5 separate regions of the Homo sapiens genome follow, and all the other regions are linked to region 2. The links are contacts of gene promoters, found by promoter capture Hi-C in blood cells and fetal thymus (Javierre and others, 2016). All regions are on one chromosome and are shown on one strand. Each heading gives the region's core, a stretch centred on a gene start or on the middle of the fragment in contact. The rest is flanking DNA. Distances are from core to core; before and after follow the strand shown. Region 1 overlaps ZNF131 (zinc finger protein 131). Region 2 holds the start of CCL28 (C-C motif chemokine ligand 28). Region 3 has its middle 20 kb from the start of ZNF131. Region 4 overlaps LOC100506639 (a long non-coding RNA gene). Region 5 has its middle 1.8 kb from the start of ZNF131.

Region 1 (2,700 bases), core at 167-2,666, 280 kb after region 2:
CCCACTGATTAGTAACTGCCCATTTCCTCCTCCCTCCCAGCCCCTAGCAACCCGTATTCCACTCTTTCAATCTATTTGAGATAGCTCATATGAGTGGAAGTGACTATTTTAGATTCCTCATATAAATAGAAATATGCAGTTTATGTCTGTGACTGGCTTACTTCACTTAGCATAATGTCCTCAAGGTTCATCCATGTGGTTGCATATGCAGAATATCCTTGTTCTTAAGAGCTGAATAGTATTCCATTGGATACATATACTACATTTTCTTTATCCATTAATCTGTTGACGAATATTTATTTCCTCTCGTGGCTACTGTAAATAGTGCTGCAATGAACATAGGAGTGCTAAAACTTCAAGATCCTGATTTCAGTTCTTTTGGATAAATGTTCAGCAAGTGGGATTGCTGAATTGTATGGTATTTTAATTTTTTAAGGAACATTCATACTGTTTTCCATAATGGCTGCACCTATTCCTGCCAACATTGTGCAAGGATTCCAATTTATTTATATCCTCACCAATACTAGTTGTCTTTTTTTTTTTGATAGCCATCCTGAAAGGTGTGAAGTGACTGATACCTCATAGTGGTTTTGATTTGCATTTCCTTGATGCCTAGTGACACTGAACTTTTTTTTCATGTATCTGTTGGCCATCTGTTTGGAGAAATGTCTATTCAAGTTCTTAGCACATTTAAAAAAACATTTTTAATTTAATTTTTTTCTGCATCATTTAGACTGTTTTTAATTGGGCAGATATTTTTTACTATCAGTTGTGGGAGTTTCTCATATATTTTTGGGATTCATTCCTTATCATTTATTTGGTTCTGCAAATACTTTCTCCCATTCCTTAGATTTCCTTTTCACTCAGTTGTTTCCTTTGCTGTACAGAAGCTTTTTAGTTTGATGTAGTCCCACCTGTCTTATTTTCTGTTGTTGGCTGTGCTTTTGACGTCACATCCACGAAATTACTAAGAATGATGTGGTGAAGCTTCCCCTCATGTTTTCTTCCAGGAGATTTACATTTTTTGGTCTTATGTCTAAGTCTCCAATTCATTTTGAGTTTTTTTCTTTTTTATGGTAGAAGATAGGGGTCCAATTTCATCTTTTTTCATGTGAATACCTAGTTCTTCCAACATCATTTGTTGCAGAAAACATTCCTTCCTTATTGTGCATTCTTGGCATCCCTGAAGATCAGTTGACCATATTATTTGCATGTTTTTATTTGTGGGCTCTCTATTCTGCTCCTTTGGTCTGTATGTCTCTTTAAGCTAGTCCCATACTGTTTTGGTTATTGTAGCTCTGTAAAATATTTTGATATCAAGAAGTATCATGTCAGCTGGGTGCAGTGGCTCATGCCTGTAATCCCAGCACCTTGGGAGGCCAAGGCTGGTGGATCACCTGAGGTCAGGAGTTCGAGATCAGCCTGGTCGATATGGTGAAACTCCGTCTCTACTAAAAAAAAAAAAAAAAGAAAAAGAAAAAAGAAAAAAAGAAAAAAATTAGATGGGGGTGGTGGCACGCACCTGTAATCCCAGCTACTTGGGAGGCTAAGGCTGCAGTGGGCCAAGATTACACCACTGCACTTCAGCCTGGGCAACACAGTAAGACTACCTCAAAAAAAAAAAAAAAAAAAAAAAAAAAAAAGTATGATGCCTCTAGCTTTGTTCTTTTTCAAGATTGATTTGGCTAGTCCATGATTTTCTGTGGTTCCATATGAATTTTAGAACTGCTTTTCCTGTTTCCATAAAACAAAAAAAATTCCATCAGGATTTTGAGAGGGACTGTATTGAATCTGTAGCCCACTTTCTGTAATACAGGCTGAATATCCCTCATATGAAAAGCTTGGGATCACAACTGTTTTGGATTTTGAAATATTTGCATTATACTTGACACAGGTTGAGCATCCCAAATCTGAAAATCCGAAATCCAAAATGCTCCAACAAGCATTTCCGTTGAGTCATGTTGATGCTCAGAAAGTTTCAAATTTTATAGCAGTTCATTTTTTCTTCTTCGAGACCAAGTCTCACTCTGTTGCCCGAGCTGGAGTACAGAGGCTCGGCTCACCGCAACCACCACCTCCCGGGTTCAAGCGATTCTCCTTCCTCAGCCTCCCAAGTAGCTGGGACTACAGGCACGCACCACCATACCCACCTAATTTTTATATTTTTAGTAGAGACAGGGTTTCACTACGTTGGCCAGCTGGTCTTGAACTCCTGAAATTGTGATATGCCCGCCTCGGCCTCCCAAAGTGCTGGGACTATAGGCGTGAGCCACTGCACCTGGCAAGCAGTTCAGATTTTCAAATTTGAGATGCTCAATCTGTATGGACAATTTAACAATACTGAGTGTTCCAAATCCATGAAGATCTATTGAGTGTCTTTAGTTTCTTTTTTCTTTTTTGAGACGGAGTCTCGCTCTGTCGCCCAGGCTCGAGTGCAGTGGTGCAATCCATGCTCACTGCAACCTCAGCCTCCCGAATAGCTGGGACTACAGGAATGGGCCACCATAACCAGCTAATTTTTGTATTTTTTTCCGGAAGAGACAGGGTTTCACCATGTTGTTCAGGCTGGTCTTGAACTCCTGACCTCAAGCAATCCACCCGCCTCCGCCTCCCAAAGTGCTGGGATTACAGGCGTGAGCCACTGTGCCCAGCCCAATTTCTTTAATGTTTTATGGTTCTCAGTATTGCATGTCTCTCACC
Region 2 (2,700 bases), core at 58-2,557:
TGATTTCAGTTTCTATTTCCAAGATGATGCCACTTTGCTGCATCTTTTGGAGAGAAGGAGCATTGTGTACTCACCTGGCAGAAGAGCAGAAGGTACCAACCCATTCCCACAAGCCCTTTTTATAGTAGCATTCATCCATTCATGAGGGTGGAGCCATCATAACCTAAACATTGTCCATTAGGCCCTATCTCCCAGCACTATTAGGGATTAATTTTCAACATGAGCTTTGGAGAAGAAAAAAATATTCAAACCACAGCAGTAATTTGAAAACATAAAAAGAAATGGGTGAAATTAATTTTAATAATATATTTTATTTAACCCAAAAAGTCCAAAATACTATCATGTAATCAATAAACAGTATAAACATTATTAACAAGATATTTTATATTTTTTTCTGTACCCAGTCTTTGAAATCCAGTGTGAATTTTATACCCATAGTACATCTGAGTTTGGACTACTCATATTTCAAGTGCTCAAGAGCCACATGTGGGCTAGCGGCTACCACATAGGACAACACAGTTCTAGAGGAAGCATGGCATGACTTTGGAGGTCATCTAGTCTGACTTGTTATTTACAGCAAAGTTAAGTACGTTGCCTGAGGTTATACAACTTATTAGTAGATGAGGAACAATTAGAATCCAATTATCTTCATGCTACCCCATGCTTTTATTCACAAAGCTGATTGGCAGCAAAGCTGCACTAGCGCTCATGCCTCTTCACACCTGCTCTTGGGCTCTTTTCTACAAGGCATTGCCCCCCTTCCTGTCTTTCTCCTAAATAAGCTATTGTAAAAAGCTTCACTGGAAACAATTTGGCTGTGAACCAAGACTAAAGTGGGGTTTAATACTTCCATATCTTTCCACAAAGATACATTTTTTATGACTTGTCACCCTTGTCCCCAGAAACTCATGGTTTCCATAAGCTACTTAAAAACTGATTATGCAATGGGTCTCAACATAAGTGTCCATCAGAATCACCTATAGAGCTTTTACAAAATTCAAATGACTGGTCTCCTACCTGGGAGTTCTGGTTTACAAATCAGGGAAAGGGGAGAGTCATTTAGATTGATTTTTTTTAATGTTCCCCAAATGATTCTGATGCACACCCCACCTCACAGTGACCCTGCCAGCTGCCAGATCTCCATTGACATCCCCTGACCCCCAGGCAGGATGAACACAAGTTAGGAGCTTAATAAGTCGAGGAGGAGCCTGGTCTTAAGGAAAGAAACATGAGAAATAGATACCCTGAACACCTCCCAGGGCGGGGCCACCTGGCTTACTTTTCCTCTGCACTTTCTCTGTGCCCAAGGACACCTTTAGCCTCATTTCCTGATCGAACAGCCTCACTTGTGTTGCTGTCAGTGCCAGTAGGGCAGGCAGGAATGCAGCAGAGAGGACTCGCCATCGTGGCCTTGGCTGTCTGTGCGGCCCTACATGCCTCAGAAGGTGAGTGGGGGCACTGGACACTTAGGCCTTCACTGGAAAGGGGGGTATCTCCCAAATCTGTGCTGGAAGGATTGAGGTGGGGCAAGAATATCTATCTCTTCAAGCAGGAATTTCCAATTGATTTCTGATTACCTACAAGAGAATGACATAGCTTTAAATTCTAGATCTCCCAGAAGTTTCAGGAAGGAACCTCATTCTAACAGGCATACTACAAATTTTTGCCACCTGGAGGATGAGGTCCTTCCATGTAGGTACAACTTCGAGCTATGTTTCCTTTTCTGAAGACAGTATCTTAGAAAATCCCCAGCTAGAGGCTGGAGTAAAGCCCCTACTATTCATCTGTCTTCCTCCACACCCCAACCTGCTAAACGGTCTGAACACAACTGTGCACATTCCTGGAGGGAAATACAGACTTGGCCAGCTGCGTTCAAATTAGGTAAGTTGTAAATTTCCTGAGCAAAGTCAGCTCTATGGATACAGAAAACTGAAACTTCAGTCTGACCTTTAAAAAGGGAGGGCAGAGCTGAGCACAGTGGTGCATGCCTGTATTCCCACCTACTTGGGAGGCTACGGCTGGAGGATAGCTTCAGGCCAGGAATTCAAGATTGCAGTGAGCTATGATCACACTGTGAATTGCCACTGCACTCTGAATTGCCACTGCACTCCAGCTTGGGCAACATAGTAAAACCCCATCTGTTAAAAACAAAAAGAGGGGAGGGGAGGGGAAAGAGAAGGAAAGGAAGAAAGGAAAGGAAAGAAAGAAAAAGAAGAAAAGCAGGATGAGGGAGATTGAACCATACAAATTATGTCAAAGAGAATTTAAATCGTGAGTTGCTAGCATGTATTTGGAGATTGTAACTGCATTTGAACTAGAGGGAATCTCTTCTAAAGTAGCACTCACTACTATATTCAGGAAACCCTAAGTGTCAGTACTTAATACTTGACCAATGACTCTTTTCCATTGTCATCTTTTCTTTAAGCTTTATCCTGAACAGATTCTCTAAGTCTAGAGCAGAGGTGGAATATAAGTCTTTGGTCTGCTTTTTAAAAATCTGAGCCAACATTTTAAAACTGAAAGCTTTCTCATGTACATACTCATACATACACACATACAAATTGGATTTTAAAGCTTCTCTTGAGAAATCAGATGTGGCAACAATGATTCCACCATACCATGGCAAGAACTGGCTAAAGCAGATGAGCCTCTGAAGTTTGCTGTATTAACTGCCTGGTCCCTGCAGGCATTTGCTTAGGG
Region 3 (2,700 bases), core at 86-2,585, 310 kb after region 2:
CAAATTCCAAAATGATTAAGCCCTTGGAAATAAAATGGGATACATGATTTGAAAGATATCCAAGAGGTGGCATGTGCAGTAAGAAGAACTCAGCATTGGGCAGGCTGGTGGCTATAGCACCAGTGCTGAGAGGGCAGGATGTTAAGTAGGAAAGAAAAGCCTTTAGAGAAGGGCAGAGTTCCAGGATCCCTGTCCATATGGACAACATGACCCTAGTCTCTCATGTCTGTCAGCTCTTGTGTCTTCTGGCTTTTCTTAGTCTCACTCAGCCACATTGTTTGTAGCACTCACTTCCCTTGAAGGCACTTGAAACTGGGACATCTGTCCACAGACAGGCCTGTCTGGACAGCCTTCCAAAATGCTCATGGCAATGAGAAAGTCTCTGAGTCCCAGTCATTTCCCTGCACACAGAGTAGTTCCCATCTTAGCAAAACTGGGTGTTCTCTGAGTATCACTCAGCACATGGAAGCTGTCCAGACTTCTGTCCTGTGCAGGCAGGCAGTAACCTGGGATCTCTGCTCTTGCATGCAGATAAACTTACAGTCCTTCAAAGCTTCAAGCTCCTAGATGGTGAAACAATACATCTGTGCTGAGAGTGAGGAGAAGGATGCAATAGTCTTCCAGTTTTGTACTTTTACACTTCTGGGTCATCAGAAACCAAAGATTTGCCTTGGTTTCCCAAAGTGTTGGGATTACAGGCATGATCCACCACGTCCAGCTTCAATAATTATTATTTTTTATTTATTTATTTTGAGACAGAGTCTTGCTCTGTCACCCAGGCTAGACTGCAGTGGCGCCATCTCGGCTCACTGCAAGCTCCACCTCCAAGGTTCACACCATTCTCCTGCCTCAGCCTCCTGAGTAGCTGGGACTACAGGTGCCTGCCACCACACCCAGCTAATTTTTTGTATTTTTAGTAGAGACGGGGTTTCACCGTGTTAGCCAGGATGGTCTCAATCTGCTGACCTTGTGATCCACCTGCCTCGGCCTCCTAAAGTACTGGGATTACAGGCATGAGCCTCCACACCCGGCCCTCAATTATTTTTGATAGTTTTGTGTCAATATTTCCATGATATATAACAATTCCTTATTATTCTAGCAATCTTTTCCTCATCATTTTGTCTTAGTTCTACATAATTCTTATACTGAGGATTAAACTGAAGCATGGCTCTAACCCTGAAACTTCTCTAATAATTTTTAATCTCAATGATATTGTTTGAATATTTGTCCCCCTCCAAATCTCATGTTGAAATTTGGTTCGGGACAGAGCAGTGGCTTACACCTGTAATCCCAGCACTTTGGGAAGCCAAGGTGGGAGGATAGCTTGTGGCCAGGAGTTCAAGACCAGCCTGGGCAACACAGAGAGACCCCTGTCTTGATAAAAATAAAAAAGGCCAGGCGCGGTGGCTCACACCTGTAATCCCAGCACTTTGGGAGGCTGAGGCGGGCGGATCACAAGGTCAGGAGATCAAGACCATCTTGGCTAACACAGTGAAACCTCGTCCCTACTAAAAATACACACACACACACACACACACACACAAAATTACCCAGGCGTGGTGGCGGGCACCTGTAGTCCCAGCTACTTGGGAGGCTGAGGCGGGAGAATGGCATGAACCCAGGAGGTGGAGCTTGCAGTGAGCCAAGATCGCGCCACTGCACTCCAGCCTGGGCAACAGAGTAAGACTCCATCTCAAAAAATAAATAAATAAATAAATAAATAAATAAAATAAAAAAGATTTTGATAATATTGGAAGTGGGACCTAAAGGGAGGTGTTTGGGTCATGGGGGTCGAGCTATCATGAATGGCTTGGTGCAGCCCCCAAGTAATAAGTAGGTTCTCACTCTATTAGTACATACAATAAAAAGAGAACCATGTCAAAAGGTACCTGAGATACACCAAGAAAGCTCAAACTTGAAGACATGTTTTTAATATGTAAATGTGTATGAATGGATACATACAAGATGTGTTTAAAATCTGTTTGAGCTGCCACTGTCAGATTCAATGTATAGCTAGCATCAATTTGCTGGGGTTAGAGGGCATCAAGATCTTCCCAGAAATTCAGAGCCTTAGGTAATCCAAAGGAAGATTCTGTCAACATTTATACCTAAGCTTGACAGCCCTGATGCCTCTTTGGACCTGGCTTGGAAATATGATCCTCTATTGTAGCAATTGTACCTTGTTGCTGAATGATGTCATCATCCACAAGATGGATCCATTCTTGATTCTCACCCTATTGACTTTTTTCCATTGCAACCATAACATGGGCTAGCTGCTCTACACCTCTCCAGTGGACTTCAAGTGCTGCTGAGCTCAAATAAATCTTGTCTGTCCCACCATTTTAACCAGACAGGCAGAGCTCTTCTGTCTTAAGTGTCTCATAAATCTTTCAAATAGGTAAACTTCTAGTGCTATGCTTCCTCTGACCGTTCTGCTATTCTGTTTTCCTGTGCCATGGTTTCTCATTAGGTTTTCTACTGTTTTTTTGTTTGTTTGTTTGTTTGTTTTTCTTTTTGTTTTTGTTTTTGAGATGGAGTTTCACTCTTGTCGCCCGGGCTAGAGTGCAATGGCGCGTTCTCGGCTCACTGCCGCCTCTGCCTCTCGGGTTCAAGCAATTCTCCTGTCTCAGCCTCCTGAGTACCTGGGATTACAGGCACCCCCCACCAAGCCCAGGTAATTTTTTTTTTTTTTTGTATTTT
Region 4 (2,700 bases), core at 110-2,609, 330 kb after region 2:
GCCTTGCTCTGTCGCCCAGGCTGGAGTGCAGTGGCACAATCTTGGCTCACTGCAAGCTCTGCCTCCGGGGTTCACGCCATTCTCCTGCCTCAGCCTGCCGAGTAGCTGAGACTACAGGCGCCCGCCACCACACCCGGCTAATTTTTTTTTTTTTTTTTTTTGAGACGTAGTCTCGCTGTTGCCCAGGCTGGAGTGCAGTGGGGCGCAATCTCGGCTCACTGCAGGCTCCGCCCCCTGGGGTTCACGCCATTCTCTTGCCTCAGCCTCCCGAGTAGCTGGGACTACAGGGCCCGCCACCTCGTCCGGCTAATTTTCTGTATTTTTAGTAGAGACGGGGTTTCACCGTGTTAGCCAGGATGGTCTCCATCTCCTGACCTCGTGATCCGCCCGCCTCGGCCTCCCAAAGTGCTAGGATTACAGCCGGGAGCCACCGCGACCGGCCCACGCCCGTCTAATTTTTTGTATTTTTTAGTAGAGACGGGGTTTCACTGTGTTAGCCAGGATGGTCTCGATCTCCTGACCTCGTGATCCGGCCACCTCGGCCTCCCGAAAGTGCTGGGATTACAGGCGTGAGCCACGGCGCCCAGCCCCAGCCTGTCACTTAAACTGATAAACGACAGATTAACAGTAGAAAAATTTTATTTTGCATACATAATGAGGCTTCACAAAAGAGAAGTGAAAACCCAAGTAGGAGTTTAGGGCTGGGGGCTTATATACCATTTAACAAGGGGTGATAAATTGTGAAGAGAATAGAATAGTCAAAGGGAAAGGAAGCTTTGCGATTATCGATTATAGGGGGAGGGAGTAAACAGTGAGAAGGTGATTAGGAAATGTCTGGCAAGTACGGTTTGTTATGCAGTTTCAAGTCCTCTCTGGTGATAATACATGTCCTCAAACAAGCATTGTGGGGGAAAGAAAGAGAGATCAGACTGTTACTGTGTCTATGTAGAAAAAGGAAGACATAAGAAACTCCATTTTGATCTGTACTAAGAAAAATTCTTCTGCCTTGAGATGCTGTTAATCTGTAACCCTAGCCCCAACCCTGTGCTCGCAGAAACATGTGCTATATTGACTCAAGATTTAATGGATTTAGGGCTGTGCAGGATGTGCCTTGGTAAAAATGTTTGCAGGCAGTATGCTTGGTAAAAGTCATCACCATTCTCCAATCTCAAGTACCCAGGGACACAATGCACTGTGGAAGGCCACAGGGACCTCTGCCCAAGAAAGCCTGGGTATTGTCTAAGGTTTCCCGCCACTGAGATAGCCTGAGATATGGCCTTGTAGGAAAGGAAAGACCTCCATCCCCCAGCCCGACACCCATAAAGGGTCCGTGCTGAGGAGGATTAGTGAAAGAGGAAGGCCTCTTTGCAGCTGAGACAAGAGGAAGGCATCTGTCTCCTGCTTGTCCCTGGGAATGGAATGTCTCAGTGTAAAACCTGATCATATATTCTATTTACTGAGATAGGAGAAAACTGCCTTATGGCTGGAAGTGAGACCTGCTGGCGGCAATACTGCTCTTTACTGCACTGAGATGTCTGTGTAAAGTCAAACATAAATCTGGCCTATGTGCACATCCAGGCACAGCACCTTTCCTTAAACTTATTTATGACACAGAGTCCTTTGCTCACATGTTTTCCTGCTGACCCTCTGGCCACCATTACCCTATAGTCCTGCCACATCCCCCTCGCCAAGATAGTAGAGATAGTGATCAATAAATACTGAGGGAACTCAGAGACCAATGCTGGTGCAGGTCCTCACTTGCTGAGCACCAGTCCCCTTGGCCCACTTTTCTTCCTCTATACTGTCTCTGTGTCTTATTTCTTTTCTCAGTGTCTCGTCTCCACCTTGCAAGAAATACCCACAGGTGTGGAGAGGCAGGCCCCCTTCAAGTATTAGAGTAGAAGAGTTTCCTTCTCTTCCAGGTAGGGGAGAGGTGGAAGCTTTTATAAATGCAAATTTTTTTACAAAAGCAAAATGTATGCCCTGCTTTTCAGCAGGAAAGGGAGGTCAGAGATCCTCATATGTCTGCTATTTCTAATTTCTTTTTTTCTCTTTTTTTTTTGAGATGGAGTCTCGCTCCCATCACGCAGGCTGGAGTGCAGTGGTACGATCTTGGCTCATTGCAACCTCTACCTCCTGGCTTCAAGCAATTCTCCTTCCTCAGCCTCCTGAGTAGCTGGTATTACAGGCGTGCCACACCACGCCTGGCTAATTTTTGTATTTTTTTTTTTTTTTTTTTTTTAGTAGAGATGGGGTTTCACCATGTTGGCCAGGCTGGTCTCGAACTCTTGACTTCAGGTGATCCACCTGCCTCGGTCTCCCAAAGTGCTAAGATTACAGGCATGAGCCACTGCACCAGGCCTGCTATTTCTAATTTTTTAACTGCTCAAAATAATCCATAGGCTAAAGTGGCATATATTGGGGTGGCACATCCTGATCCCCTTTACATCCCAGACTAACTCTGATAGAGATTCTAGCCCTCCCTGGGCTCATTAGAAAAGAAGCTCTAGGCACATTAGAAACATCTCAGTCATTTAAAATTCTCTAGCCTAGGAAGGTTCAAGTTAAGCCTTCCAAACAATTGGAGTTCACTGCGGCCTACCATCTGCAACTTTTTCATGCCATACACTCATTTCTGATGGGCACATCTAATTCTGTCTTAAAATACAAGACAATACTGAAGACACACAAACCTATACA
Region 5 (2,700 bases), core at 122-2,621, 290 kb after region 2:
AGTGCCACTGCATTCCAGCCTGGGCGACAGAGCGAGACAACGTCTCAAAAAAAAAAAAAAGTCCAGTGACCCACAGTCAGCTGCATGTGACTGCTTCCTTAATTCCTCCAAAGAAATATTATATATAAATACATTTTGAGGATAATTCTATAATTGAGATTTACTTATTTTTTTCTCTCAAAGAACTTGAGAATTGGGATTACGGAGGAACTCAAATAGCTATATGGTAATAATGTCATCATAACTTCAACAGATATGTATTGAGAATCCTAGTACTAGACACTGAGAAGTCCAGCTGTGAACAAGGTATATGTGGTTTCTGCCTTTCTGAATCTTAAGTCTAGTAGACTGCATAGATATTTTGAACAGTAATTGCCTAGGTGCTTGCTGATGAGTTTTGCAACACCTGAAGAACGAAGTAACTGGGTGTCAAGGAAAGCCAGTTGACCTGTAAGAAGAGATGTGGGCGGGCGCGGTGGCTCACGCTTGTAATCCCAGCACTTTGGGAGGCCGAGTTGGGGAGGAGGAGTTCAGCCCAGGAGTTTGAGGCCAGCCTGGGCACATAGCGAGACCCCATCTGTATTAAAACAAAAAATGTTTTTAAGTGATGTGAAGTCTAAGTGTTCTTAGCCAAAAGTATAGCACATGCAAAGGCACCAAGATTATAGCATTCAGGAAACTGAAACAATGTTGCTGGATAGACGCACAAGGGTGCCTTATAAAAAGTGTTGAAGATGTCAGATTTTCTTTTTGCAAGGGGAAGCCTTGCCGCATGGTGACATCCTAAGATGTACTTTTTAAAGAGATAATTCTAGCCCCAATATGGAGAACAGATTAAATGGGACAAGCTGCTAGGAATAGAGATCAACTGGGAGACTGTTAGTAATGTAGATGAAACCATGGGGGAAAATGGAATTAGAGAGCTGGTCAGAATCTAGAGATAGGCTGGGCGCAGTGGTTCAGGCCTGTAATCCCATCACTTTGGGAGGCCCAGTCGGGGAGGATCGCTGGAACCCAGGTGTTCAAGACCAGCCTGGGTGACATGGTGAAACATCGTCTCTACAAAATACAAAAAAATTAGTGATGGTGTGCACCTATTGTTTCAGCTACTTGGAAGACTGGGGTGGGAGGATCACTTGAGCTCAGGGAGGTTGAGGCTGCAGTGAGCTAAGATGGTGCCACTTCACTCCAGCCTGGGCAACAGAGTGAGACCCTGTCTCAAAAAAAAAAAAAAAAATCTAGAGATAGAACCAACATTGGCTGTAAAGCATGCCATAGATACTAAATAAATATTGCTGGATATATTGGTGACAAGGGAGAAAGAATAGTCAAAGATGGCTCCTGGATTTCTGGCTTGAGCCAGTAGATTGTTGGCACCATCTACCAAAATAGGAAATACAACTGGCGGAGCTGGATGGGGAGAGAGGATGGAACCAGAGGTGTTATTATAAGGAGATAATGTTAGAGGCCCTTGGATATATGGGCCTACATATAGTTTAGGGAAGAAGACTAACCGTAGAGATAGAGATTTGCAAGTTTACAGCATAAAAGGAATATTGAAGTGTTAAGAATAGATGGGATTGTTTAAAGAGAGTCTGCAGGAGTGATAGGCTAGCTGCTTGTAGATTGAATTGGTGTTTTAAAATATTATCATCAGCTGGTGGCTCATGCCTGTAATCCCAGCACTTTGGGAGGCCGAGGTGGGTGGATCATGAGGTCAGGAGTTTGAGACCAGCCTGACCAACACGGTGAAACCCTGTCTTTACTAAAAATACAAAAATTAGCCGGGCATGGTGGCATGCGCCTGTAATCCCAGCTACTCGGGAGGCTGAGGCAAGAGAATCGCTTGAACTCGGGAGGCGGAGGTTGCAGTGAGCTGGGACCGTGCCACTGCACTCCAGCCTGAGCAACAGAGCGAGAGTCTGTCTCAAAAAAAAAAAAAAAAAAAAATACGCTGGGCGCAGTGGCTCACGCCTGTAATCCCAGCACTTTGGGTGGCTGAGGCGGACAGATCACGAGGTCAGGAGATCGAGACCATCCTTGCTAACACGGTGAAACCCCGTCTCCACTAAAAATACAAAAAAATTAGCCGGGCATGGTGGCGGGCACCTGTGGTTCCAGCTACTGGGAAGGCTGAGGCAGAAGAATGGCGTGAGCCGAGATCGTGCCACTGCACTCCAGCCTGGGTGACAGAGCAAGACTCTGCCTCAAAAAAAAAATAAATATAAAATAACACATAAATTAAATTAAATATTATCATAATTGTTATTATTCACACAGCCTGCCACCATGCCTGGCTAATTTTTTGTATTTGTAGTAGAGATAGAGTTTTGCCATGTTGGCCAGCCTGGTCTCGAACTTCTGACCTCAGGTGATCGCCTGCCTCCGCCTCTCAAAGGGCTGGGATTACAGGCATGAGCCACCGTGCCTGGCCACGGTATTTCTTAAGATGAAGAAATTGGACACAAAAATAGGCTTTTTGGAAATTCCAGTATATAGGACCGCTCTTCTTTTACAGCAATTGAATTTAACCAAATGGAGAACCCTTTTCTACATAGGATTTGAGCTGTCCAGTTCCCTATAATCCCCACCAATTTCTAATGTTTTAGACTCAGCTATCATTCATTTTCCTTATTTGCTTAGTCCCTGAAAGCATTTGAGTTTGGGACTCCTAGTCCCAAATGGGAGAATGGAAGAGAG

The links. The method cuts DNA at HindIII sites, captures the fragments that hold promoters and counts their contacts. A CHiCAGO score of 5 or more calls a contact.
Region 1: a fragment that was not itself captured here is called in contact with the fragment with the promoter of CCL28 in region 2 in 3 of 17 cell types (erythroblasts, M1 macrophages and megakaryocytes); the score reaches 9.3 in erythroblasts.
Region 3: a contact is called between a fragment that was not itself captured here and the fragment with the promoter of CCL28 in region 2, in 3 of 17 cell types (erythroblasts, M1 macrophages and M2 macrophages). The highest score is 6.9, in erythroblasts.
Region 4: a contact is called between a fragment that was not itself captured here and the fragment with the promoter of CCL28 in region 2, in 1 of 17 cell types (erythroblasts). The highest score is 5.2, in erythroblasts.
Region 5: a fragment that was not itself captured here is called in contact with the fragment with the promoter of CCL28 in region 2 in 3 of 17 cell types (erythroblasts, M1 macrophages and M2 macrophages); the score reaches 6.3 in erythroblasts.

What each region holds. Positions count from the first base shown.
Region 1 is chr5:43,135,420-43,138,119 of GRCh38, reverse strand. All of the region lies in intron 3 of ZNF131 (zinc finger protein 131), which reads right to left. Among named protein-coding and RNA genes, the nearest start is that of ZNF131, 16 kb to the right of the region's middle. The HindIII fragment of the contact is 853 bases long and covers 990-1,842 here.
Region 2 is chr5:43,410,998-43,413,697 of GRCh38, reverse strand. CCL28 (C-C motif chemokine ligand 28) reads left to right here and starts at 1,307. Exons shown (of 3, transcript NM_148672.3): 1 at 1,307-1,445. The coding sequence starts at 1,382. The HindIII fragment of the contact is 1,630 bases long and covers 798-2,427 here.
Region 3 is chr5:43,099,372-43,102,071 of GRCh38, reverse strand. No RefSeq gene overlaps it. Among named protein-coding and RNA genes, the nearest start is that of ZNF131, 20 kb to the left of the region's middle. The HindIII fragment of the contact is 1,560 bases long and covers 556-2,115 here.
Region 4 is chr5:43,076,210-43,078,909 of GRCh38, reverse strand. The region is part of intron 2 of LOC100506639 (a long non-coding RNA gene); the gene reads right to left. Among named protein-coding and RNA genes, the nearest start is that of ANXA2R-OT1, 10 kb to the right of the region's middle. RefSeq lists an enhancer at 249-802. The HindIII fragment of the contact is 1,166 bases long and covers 777-1,942 here.
Region 5 is chr5:43,117,800-43,120,499 of GRCh38, reverse strand. No RefSeq gene overlaps it. Among named protein-coding and RNA genes, the nearest start is that of ZNF131, 1.8 kb to the left of the region's middle. The HindIII fragment of the contact is 6,749 bases long and covers 1-2,700 here.